Regions from separate parts of the Homo sapiens genome. Here region 2 is linked to region 1. The links are contacts of gene promoters, found by promoter capture Hi-C in blood cells and fetal thymus (Javierre and others, 2016). All regions are on one chromosome and are shown on one strand. The core of a region is centred on a gene start or on the middle of the fragment in contact, and the rest is flanking DNA. Distances in the headings are between cores, read along the strand shown. Region 1 holds the start of SUOX (sulfite oxidase). Region 2 overlaps GDF11 (growth differentiation factor 11).

The links. The method cuts DNA at HindIII sites, captures the fragments that hold promoters and counts their contacts. A CHiCAGO score of 5 or more calls a contact.
Region 2: a fragment that was not itself captured here is called in contact with the fragment with the promoter of SUOX in region 1 in 13 of 17 cell types (naive CD8 T cells, endothelial precursors, non-activated CD4 T cells and 10 more); the score reaches 9.3 in naive CD8 T cells.

Annotation. Positions count from the first base shown.
Region 1 is chr12:55,994,531-55,999,299 of GRCh38, reverse strand. SUOX (sulfite oxidase) reads right to left here and starts at 2,024. Exons shown (of 5, transcript NM_001032386.2): 1 at 1,961-2,024; 2 at 1,577-1,685. RAB5B (RAB5B, member RAS oncogene family) reads right to left here. Exons shown (of 6, transcript NM_002868.4): 6 at 2,617-4,769. RefSeq lists a silencer at 1,975-2,164 and an enhancer at 1,750-2,250. The HindIII fragment of the contact is 7,616 bases long and covers 540-4,769 here.
Region 2 is chr12:55,755,139-55,759,895 of GRCh38, reverse strand. GDF11 (growth differentiation factor 11) reads right to left here. Exons shown (of 3, transcript NM_005811.5): 3 at 2,632-4,757. SARNP (SAP domain containing ribonucleoprotein) reads left to right here. Exons shown (of 11, transcript NM_033082.4): 11 at 2,343-2,626. The coding sequence ends at 2,384. Among named protein-coding and RNA genes, the nearest start is that of GDF11, 14 kb to the right of the region's middle. The HindIII fragment of the contact is 3,070 bases long and covers 1,543-4,612 here.

The DNA.
Region 1 (4,769 bases), core at 775-3,274:
GCGCACCTGTGGTCCCATCTACTCTGGAGGCTGAGAAGATCTAAGCCCAGGAGTTTGAGGTTACAGAGTGAGCTGACTGTGCCACTGCACTTCAGCTTGGGCAACAGAGAGCGAGACCCTGTCTCAAAACAAAAACAAAAAAAAGTTATATGAATGTGGTCTCTCTCTCAAAATATACTTTTTTTTGGCCAGTCATGGTGGCTCATGCCTATAATCCCAAAATTTTGGGAGGCCAAGGAAGGAGGATCACTTGACTCCAGGAGTTCAAGACCAGCTTGGGCAACATAGTGAGACTGTGTCTCTAGAAAAAAAAAAACAAATTAACTGGGCATGGTGGTGCCTGTCTGTAGTCTCAGCTACCGGGGTGGTGGGGAGAGGAGTGCTGAGATGAGAGGATGGCTTGAGTCCAGGAGGTCGAGACTGCAATGAATTATGATGGCGCCACCGTACTCCAGCCTGGGCAACAGGGCAAGACCTTGTCTCAAAAAAAAAAAAAGCCTGGGCGATGGAGCAAGTGTCGATCATGGCTCACTGAAGCTTCAACCTCTTGGGCTCAAGCCATCCTCCTGCCTTAGCCTCCCCAGCAGCTGGGACTACAAGTGTGTGTCACCAAGCCTGGCTAATTTTTCTGTAGACATGGGAGTCTATGTTGTCAGGGCTGGTCTTGAACTCCTGGCCTCTTGCTGCCTTAGCCCCCAAAGTGCTGGGATTACAGGCATGAGCCACTGTCCGGCTTCCCCTCCCCTCCCCCTGCCCCTGACAGGGTCTTGCTCTGCCCAGGCTGGAGTGCAGTGGCGTGATCTCAGCTCACTATAGCATCAAACTTCTGGGCTCAAGCCATCCTCCTGCCTCAACCTCCTGAGTAGCGGGGACCACAGGCGTGTGCCACCATGCATGGTCTTTTTTTTTTTTTTTTTGTAGAGATGAGGTCTTACTATGTTGCCCAGGCTGGTCTCAAACTCCTGGGTTCAAGTGATCCTTCAAACTTGGTCTCACAAAGTCCTGGGATTATTACAGGCATGAGCCACCACTCCCAGCCTCAAAATATCTTATTGTACTGTGTTCAACTATTTTCCAAGCGGTTGACCATAGCTAACTGAAACTCAGGAAAAGGAAACTTTGGATAAGGGGAGACTGCTGTAATAACATTGTCTTTGAAGGCTTTTCAGTCCCCAACTCTCCCTCCATTCACCCTAAAAAAAATTGAACCCAGCTGGGAACTGGACCCCAACCTAGGGTCCCGGACCACCTCAATCTTCTCTGTGCCACTGTAGTGAGCTCAGCAAATTGAGGAGTTAATGGCCAGAGTGTCAGGGGCAGGCTGGAGAAGGAAGGTAATTTTTCTGCTCTCTGCCCTGCAAGTTTCTTCCTCAAATTGCTGAACAGAGAGCACTGACCCAGCAGGGCCAAAGTGAGGAGGGGTGACAAATGTCTAAACTGCTGATGAGATGCTGGAGACCAATGTGCTGGGGTGGGTGGGTCGTGGGTAGGGAGGAAAGGAAACCTAGAGATGGGAATAGGAGCAGTCTTCACCTTGCCCCTGGGCCATGGGACCATTACTCTCTCTGCCACCTACCTCAATGCCAGCAGCCTGTTTGTACTAGACCAGAGCAGTGCAGGTAGGGCTGACTCGCAGGTGAACTCAGTGAGCCCAGAATCCCAGGTTTGGGAGGGACAGCCTTTTGCTGTAATACAGAAATGCCACCCGTTGGTGCAGGTGATGACCCCTCACTCCCCATGGGCACGTTAGGTAGGAACATACGTCCGGCATCCAGGCACAAAAGGGTCTTGCGGCAACACCCCGCGATCTCAAGAGCACCCAGACAGAAGGAGTGGAGGCAGGTACTGATAGTTTTGTTGCCCTTGAGGTTCGGAGCACAGCTGGACACCAAGGCCCCCTCCGCTGCCCAGCTCAGCAGCCCTTCCTCCCCAGCTTCTTTACCACCCCCAGTCTCCTTACCGGGTCCAGTGTCTTCAGCACTGCAATTTTACCAGCCCAGCTCTGCGAGTTCTCGAGAAGGGGCGGGGCCAGCGCCGTTATGTCCGGCTGCAGTAAGTGACCTCTCACTCCCCTCAGCTTATCCCTCAGCCATTGGCTGGAAGCGGGTGGCTCAACCATTGGCTGGAACCCGCCTCCTGGAGCCGAGACAGGCAGGTTGCTAAGAAGCCTGGGAGAAGAGGCTGGCTCTTTTTGCTGTCACTCTCGCCAACAGTCCGGAGTCCATTATACCCCTGGTGTGCAAAGAATGGGACCCTTGTGCACCAGGGCTGTATGTCCGGAGCTCGGGCAGTGTGGAAGGTGACAAGGAATCCAAAAGTTGGGCTGACAGGTGGGAGATTTTGAGACACCCCTGCCGCCCCTCCCTGGAGGAGGCCTCGGGATCCAGTCCGGTTTTCCCCGGCTGTGATCTCCACTTTAAACCCAGGGTAGACCTACCTCTATCTACTCTGTTGCAACTACAACTACCCTGTTTATCTTTTAGGGAAAGCAAAGTCAATCGCTTAGTTCTCGTATTCCAGGAATGATAACAGAAATGCCTAAAATAGTGGTTCCAAGAATTTGAGATTCCTTGGGCTAGTCGAATTTCTCCCCAAACAAAAATGAAACAACAACACTGAATAGCCGTCTTTTATTTTGCGTAGAAAAAAAAAATAATAATCGCCCCTTGGTGGCACACGCCTGTAGTCCCAGTACTCGGGAGGCTGAGGCGGGAGGATCGCTTAAGCCCAGGAGTTCGAGGTTGCACTGAGCCAAGATCGCGGCACTGCACTCCAGCCTGGACAACAGAGCAAGACCCCATCTCTTAAAAAACAAACTGCCCCTTAACAAGAGCAATGGCAGCTTAACACCCCGAAGTATGAAGGTTGTAGTCTCTTATCTCAAAGTAAGGGGCATAAATATAATACATTTCCTATTACCCTTTTGTCATTTGATGCAGGACAAAATTTATCAAACCTAGTCCCCCAATCTGGACAAATGTATCCATACACTGCCCTCTAGAGGCCGGACGGTGGAGCTGCAATTTTAATCAGTTTAAGTGAAGGTGTTCACCTTTAATTTTGAAAGATCATTTCCTTTCCTTTCGGCTCTCCAACTAGAGCTTTTACCAGGAATCAGGGAACGGGGGTGGGGGGTATTACCAAGAGATATAAGGTAAGGGAACCGACAGTGAAAAGTTGGCAAGTTGGCTTTGGCTCTTAAGTGTTTGGAAATGGAAAGGATTTCAATCTGTATACAATCAAATCACTGAAGAAGGCTAATGCCCAACCTATCCTACCAGTTGTTAAAAAAAAAATATATATATATATATATATGTATATATATATGGAGAGAGAGAGAGTGAGAGAGAGAGAGAGAGGGAGAAAGAGGGAGAGAGAGAGAAAGCGAGCTTCAACCTAAAAAAAAAAAAGTCTCAGCCAAAGGAAGATACAGAGAAGTCAGTTAGGGACTATCTAAAAGCCTCCTTCCTAATAGTGTCATCTACTTTTGTGTGACACACATACTTTACATAATTGACCTTAATCTTCAGCTTTTACTTTACAGATGAAGAAACGAGGCGGAAGGCACTAACTAACTTGATCAAGGCCACAGCTGGTTAAGTTGACAGAGACAGGCCTAGAATGTCAGATTTGTCTGGCACCAGTCCTCTTTCCTATCCACCTTCAGATTCTTTGGAATTTAAAGCCTACTGCAACCACACATAATCCTATTTCATTTCCCTTCCCTCGACCTTTAGACTGTGGTGGACTGAAGGGTTTGAAGTACACTAGGAGTCAAGAGCAGATCCAGAGGAAATTTTCCCGTTGAGGTGGAAGCTACAAGAAAACTAACTCAGTGATGTTTTTCAACCTTTGGGTCATGGACCCCTTTGAGAAACATATAGAAATGGATCCTAGAAATATGCACATACGGCCGGGCGCAGTGGCTCACGCCCGTAATCCCAGCACTTTGGGAGGCCAAGGTGGGTGGATCACGAGGTCAGGAGTTCAAGACCAGCCTGACCAACATGGTGAAACCCCGTCTCTACTAAAAATACAAAAATTAGCTGGGTGTGTTGGTGCGTGCCTGTAATCCTAGCTACTCAGGAGGCTGAGGCAGGAGAATCACTTGAACTCAGGAGGCGGAGATTGCTGTGAGCCAAGATCGTGCCACTGTACTCCAGGCTAGCGACAGAGACTCCGTCTCAATTAAAAAAAAAAAAAGAAATATGCACATACATTTTTGTATACTACTTCAAATAGCACCCCTCTCTCTAATCTGATCAGTGGGCCCAAAGATCCACAGACCATACCCTACACATATACATTCTGTTAAGAGGGCCTAAAAAGATATAATAGGGTTTGATTTGATGAACAATCTAGTGGCCTTAGAAGAGGGGTGATTAAATAGCAATAGAAGGGCTATTTTCTAAACTAGATGTTTAAGAAAAGATTAAAGGGAATAAAGATGTATCAAGATGCAGGGAAAGGTGTGTTTCTGATTCAGTAGAACATTACTGGGTATCCTTTCTTCCAAATTCCTAGTACCTGACAAATAGCAAAAATAATAATAATAATAACAATAAAATAAAAAAAAGCAACACTCCAATGCCCTTTTCTTTTTTTCCTTTTTTTACTTACATTAAATACATCGGTAAATCAGCAGTCGCATTCTGTTACCACGATTGTTATGTTGGGAGAGGAAGAAAGGCAAATGCTTTCTCAGAAGCAAAACAAAAACAAAAAACCACAACACCCCCCCTTAAAAAAACTGACCAGAAGAAAAAAAT
Region 2 (4,757 bases), core at 1,828-4,327, 240 kb after region 1:
CGTGGTGGCACACACCTATAGTCCCAGCTACTCAGGAGGCTGAGATGGGAGGATCACTTAAGCCCAGGAGGTCAAGGCTGCAGTGAACCTGGATGGCGCCACTGTACTCCAGCCTGGGCAATAGAGTGAGACCCTGTCTCAAAAAAGAAAAAGGCGGCCGGGCATGGTGGCTTACGCCTATAATCCTAGCACTTTGGGAGGCTGAGGCAGGCAGATTACCTGAGGTCGAGAGTTCAAGATCAGCCTGGCCAACATGGTGAAACCCCATCTCTACTAAAAATACATTTATTTATTTATTTATTTACTTATTTAAAAAAATTAGCCAGGTGCAGTGGCATGTGCCTGTAATCCCAGCTACTCTGGAGACCGAGGCATGAGAATCTCTTGAAACCGGGAGGCAGAGGTTGCGGTGAGCCAAGATCACGCCACTCCAACATGGGCTACAGAGTGAGACTTGCTCTCAAAAAAAAAAAAAAGAAAAGAAAAAGGCTTTGCCACTTAGTATTAATAAGTTACAGTACTTCCTGAGCCTCAGGTTTCATCATCTAGGAAGTGGAGATAATAAAACCTACCTCAAAGTTTTATTTAAAGAGTGAAACGATTCTGTATAAAAAGGGATAGTTTTAAAATATTTAATAAGAACTGGTTGTGCCTAACTCATTTCTGGAAAAGGACAGTGGACTCAAATGAGACTTCCTGTTCTTGTCACTTTGTTTACAGATAGTTTCTCAAAATGAAAGAATCCCAGCACTTTAGGAGAGCAGTGTGGGAGGATCACTTGAGGTCAGGAGTTGGAGACTAGCCTGGGCAACATAGTGAGACCTCATCTCTACTAAAAGTTTAAAATAAATTAGCTGAGTGTGGTGGCATGTGCCTGTAGTCCCAGCTACTCCAGAGGCTGAGGTGGAGGTTGTAGTGAGCCCAGATGGCACCCCTGTACTCCAGCCTGGGCAACAGAGCAAGACTGTCTCAAAAAAAAAAAAAAAAAAAGTATATTAGGCTGTTCTTGCATTGCTGTAAAGGAGAAATACATGAGACTAGGTAACTTATGAAGAAAAGAGGCTTAATTGGCTTACATTTCTGCAGGCTTTATGGGAAGCATGGTGCTGGCATCTGCTTGGCTTCTGGGGAGGCCTCAGGAAGCTTACAATCATGGTGGAAGGCCTTAAACAGCCATATCTGGCAAGAACTTACTATCTTGAGGACAGTACCAACAGGATGATGCTTTATGAAAAGCTTCTTTTTTTTTTTGAGATGGAGTCTCGCTCTGTCGTCCAGGCTGGAGTGCAGTGGTGCGATCTCAGCTCACTGCAACCTCCGCCTCCCGGGTTCAAGTGATTATTGTGCTTCAGCCTCCTGAGTACCTGGGATTACAGGCGTGTGCCACCACACCCGGCTAATTTTTGTGTTTTTAGTAGAGACGGGGTTTTACCGTGTTGGTCAGGCTGGTCTTGAACTCCTGACCTCGTGATCTGCCTGCCTCGGCCTCTCAAAGTCCTGAGATTACAGGCGTGAGCCACCATGCCTGGCCTATGAAAAGCTTCTTCATGAATAAGTATCAGAGTCAGTCTTGTAAATTAAACCCTGAAAATTTTAGAGTCAGATCAGCTAACACTCTTCACTAGAAAAAAGCCAGAGGAGTTTGTATTCTGCTAGGGGCAGTGGTTGGGAGTGCCCATGAAGGACTTGGTGCTGTTCTGTGAGTCACTTCCAGAACCAGAAGTCTTCCCTCACCATTTTGTGTCCTCTCCAGTGTTGCTGTCTCCTTTAAGAGATCTATGATAGGGACTCACCCACATACCACTCACTCCCTATTCGTTCTGTTGGCATCAAAGATTTATATGCCTTTTTTGTGGGTTGGAGTCCTAAGGAATAGCTACTGTCTGGGCCTGACTGCTCAGAAGGGCATCTCCTTCACCTCTATGAATAGCATTGGTTAATCCTTTATCCTCTGAAATCTTCCGTCTCCCCATTGACTGGAAGACTTTTCCCAGCCTGTTAAGAGCCCATTGTTTCCAGGCTAGCTTGATCTCAGGCTGAGTGGCTCTCTTTGCTTCAGGAATCTTCCCATTTTCTACCACTGTTCTTCTCTCTGTCCCTCACCCCCAGTAATCTTCTTTACTCCTCACCCTCCTTACCCATTAAACTTTCCAGCTCCTACTGGATAACTGGAAGGATTGGAGAGATTCAGGAATGAAATCTCTAGCTACCAAGCTCAAGTCTGGGCCATCCTTCCTTCTCGGGCCTTGTGACAGTTCATGTGAGTTTGGATTAAAGCAGCCAGGAACCCAGGCAACTATTGTCTTCAGTCTAATTTTTTTCTTCTTGCTTCTTCTTTACAGGCAAAGAAGAGGAAAAGAGCAGAGCGCTTTGGGATTGCCTGATGAAAAGTTCCTGATACTTTCTGTTCTCCAGTGTTTTCCATTTCTCTCCTTCTTCTTGGTCACATATATGCCTAAATGCACAGTCATGTGCCTACGTCCTGCCTCGCAATGAGGGAGCATGTACCCCAGGTACATCCATGAACTGCGGCAGCAGTTTGACTTATTGCTGTTTCAGCTTTAAGGTTGTTGTGTTTTTGTTTTTGATTATGTTGCTTGTTAATAAAAAAAAATAGAAAAGAGAACAATGTGTTTTATTAGGTGCTCCTTTGATTTATTGGAGCTAGATTAGACCAGATAAGGGGAGCTTCAGGGGCAAATATTATAGAGAATTGGCCATAATACCTTTATCCCTTAGAAGAGAAGACAAGGAAAAGGACTGAGTTTACCCTTTAAGCCTGTTTATTCCCTTCTGTCATACTCACAAGCATTTTTTATCCTCTGTGAAGAGGTTAAGTTACCCACCCACCAAGTCTTTGCTCCAGCAGCTTGTAGTGACCCACTGAAATAAAACAGAACATGGGAGGTTTTAGGTGTTGCAAAGGATATAAATACAAGGGCAGTGATTAGTAGCCTTCTGTTATTAGCTAATAATGCAGACTTTTTCTTGGATAAAATGGAGTCCAGGGTCCCACATTAAAGGAAAAGGGCCCTGATTTCAAGGGTGATGTGATACGATACTATGTTGGTCAGTCAGTTCAGGAAGGGAGATGGGCTGGATATCCCTCAGAGACAGAAGAAATTTTGTATGCAGAATCAAAGCATGACAGAGGATGTCAGAGCTGTTACGCATTGTTAGCTAAATCATTGGGAACATAAGCAGTGGAACTGGAGGCTTCAAGTTCATGTAGATCTGAAACCTGCTTAATCTTTTTGGATATGTTATTGCAGAATTTCTCCTCTTAATCTTTATATAAGCTCGGTTTTTGTTTGAGCTATTTTTGGTAATAAGACTTAGGAGCCTGACACCTTACCTGAAGACTTTGGTACTATGATCAGGTCCCATGTTGCTGTGGTGTAATCCTTTATCCTTATTTCTACTAAAACCTGCCTGGTTTTGTGCTTAATGAAATGGTAATAGTTTGATCACCTTTCTAATGTCAAGATATCTCTTTATTTCTCCAAAGTCTCTGGTTGGTGAGGAAAGCAGGGACCTAAAGTTTAGATAATTTAGAAAAATTGTGCCTTGGAGAGCAGATCCAAAAACTGCTGCCCATTTGTTGTGAAGTTTGCCCCATTCTGAGACTTTGGAGAAGTGAACAAAAGGGAATGCTGGTTAAATTTTTGACACCTCTTCAACCAAATAAACCTTAAAATTGGAATGACCTTCCCTTTTCCCTCTTTTCTGTCTGCCTTCCTTTTCTTTACCTCAGGCTCTGATCTTGGGGCTAGCTTTTCCTCTCTCTACTCTGCCTTCATCTGAAAACAGAATAGATCTGATTTGTAACTTGAGAGATTATAGATTCACTAATGGTTTCTTCCTGAATATGGTTTTAAAAAGAGAAAAATACATGAGGGAATAGAGCAGATGCTGATTATGAAGTGGAACAGTGGATCTTTTGGAAGTTTTCTTCGTCTCTTTATCCTCTATAACCTTCCAGAAAGATATTCAGCCTTACTTGCCAGGATTCTCTTCTTGAAGCCTAATTATTCTCCTCACTCATCTTACTTCCCCTAGATCTTTGAACAGTGTTTTCCAATTTGTGAGGATTTTTTTTTTTTTCTTATTAACCTCTTTCATCCCATTTCAGCAGCTGTTCCTATGTTGGTCAGAAGTCTCTAACCTCCAAGCCAGATGAAGTCCTCCCCTTCCTATCTCATTATAGTCATTCTCCACATACTCTTTGAGCATGAATAGTTCAGGATGCCTTTTTCCCAATTCAGTTTTAAAATAGTAATTCCGTTTGGAGATGGAACAGACATTGAGGCTTGTAATTGTTTACCTGAGATCTTAGTACCCTTCCTTCCTCTCCCCGTTTCCCTACTATAGTTGATCCAGCATCCAGATGTGGTTAACTGATTCCAATTCCTGAAGCTGTGACATTCTCTGCATACCTGGAAGCTCTTAATGAGGGAGTCTATAAAAGCTGTGGGGAGAACTAGCTTCCTCAGCTGTAAATCTGTACTTTTTTATGGTTCTCTAGGATTATTCTTTTTTTCCACTCTCACTCTAAACTGCCCAGCCCCCCACCCCACCTCTTAAGAACTGCTGAAGATAGAGGCTAGAAGCTTCTGTGAGGATGAGGGCTATAGGAAGGAAGGTGTGAATAAGGGCAGGACTTCTTGGTGTTGAGCTGAGTTCTCTTGCTGTGTCTGATATGAGGAGTGAGGGAGGAACTTAAGGGAGGATAACTTTTTTGCTGTTCTCTTATATGA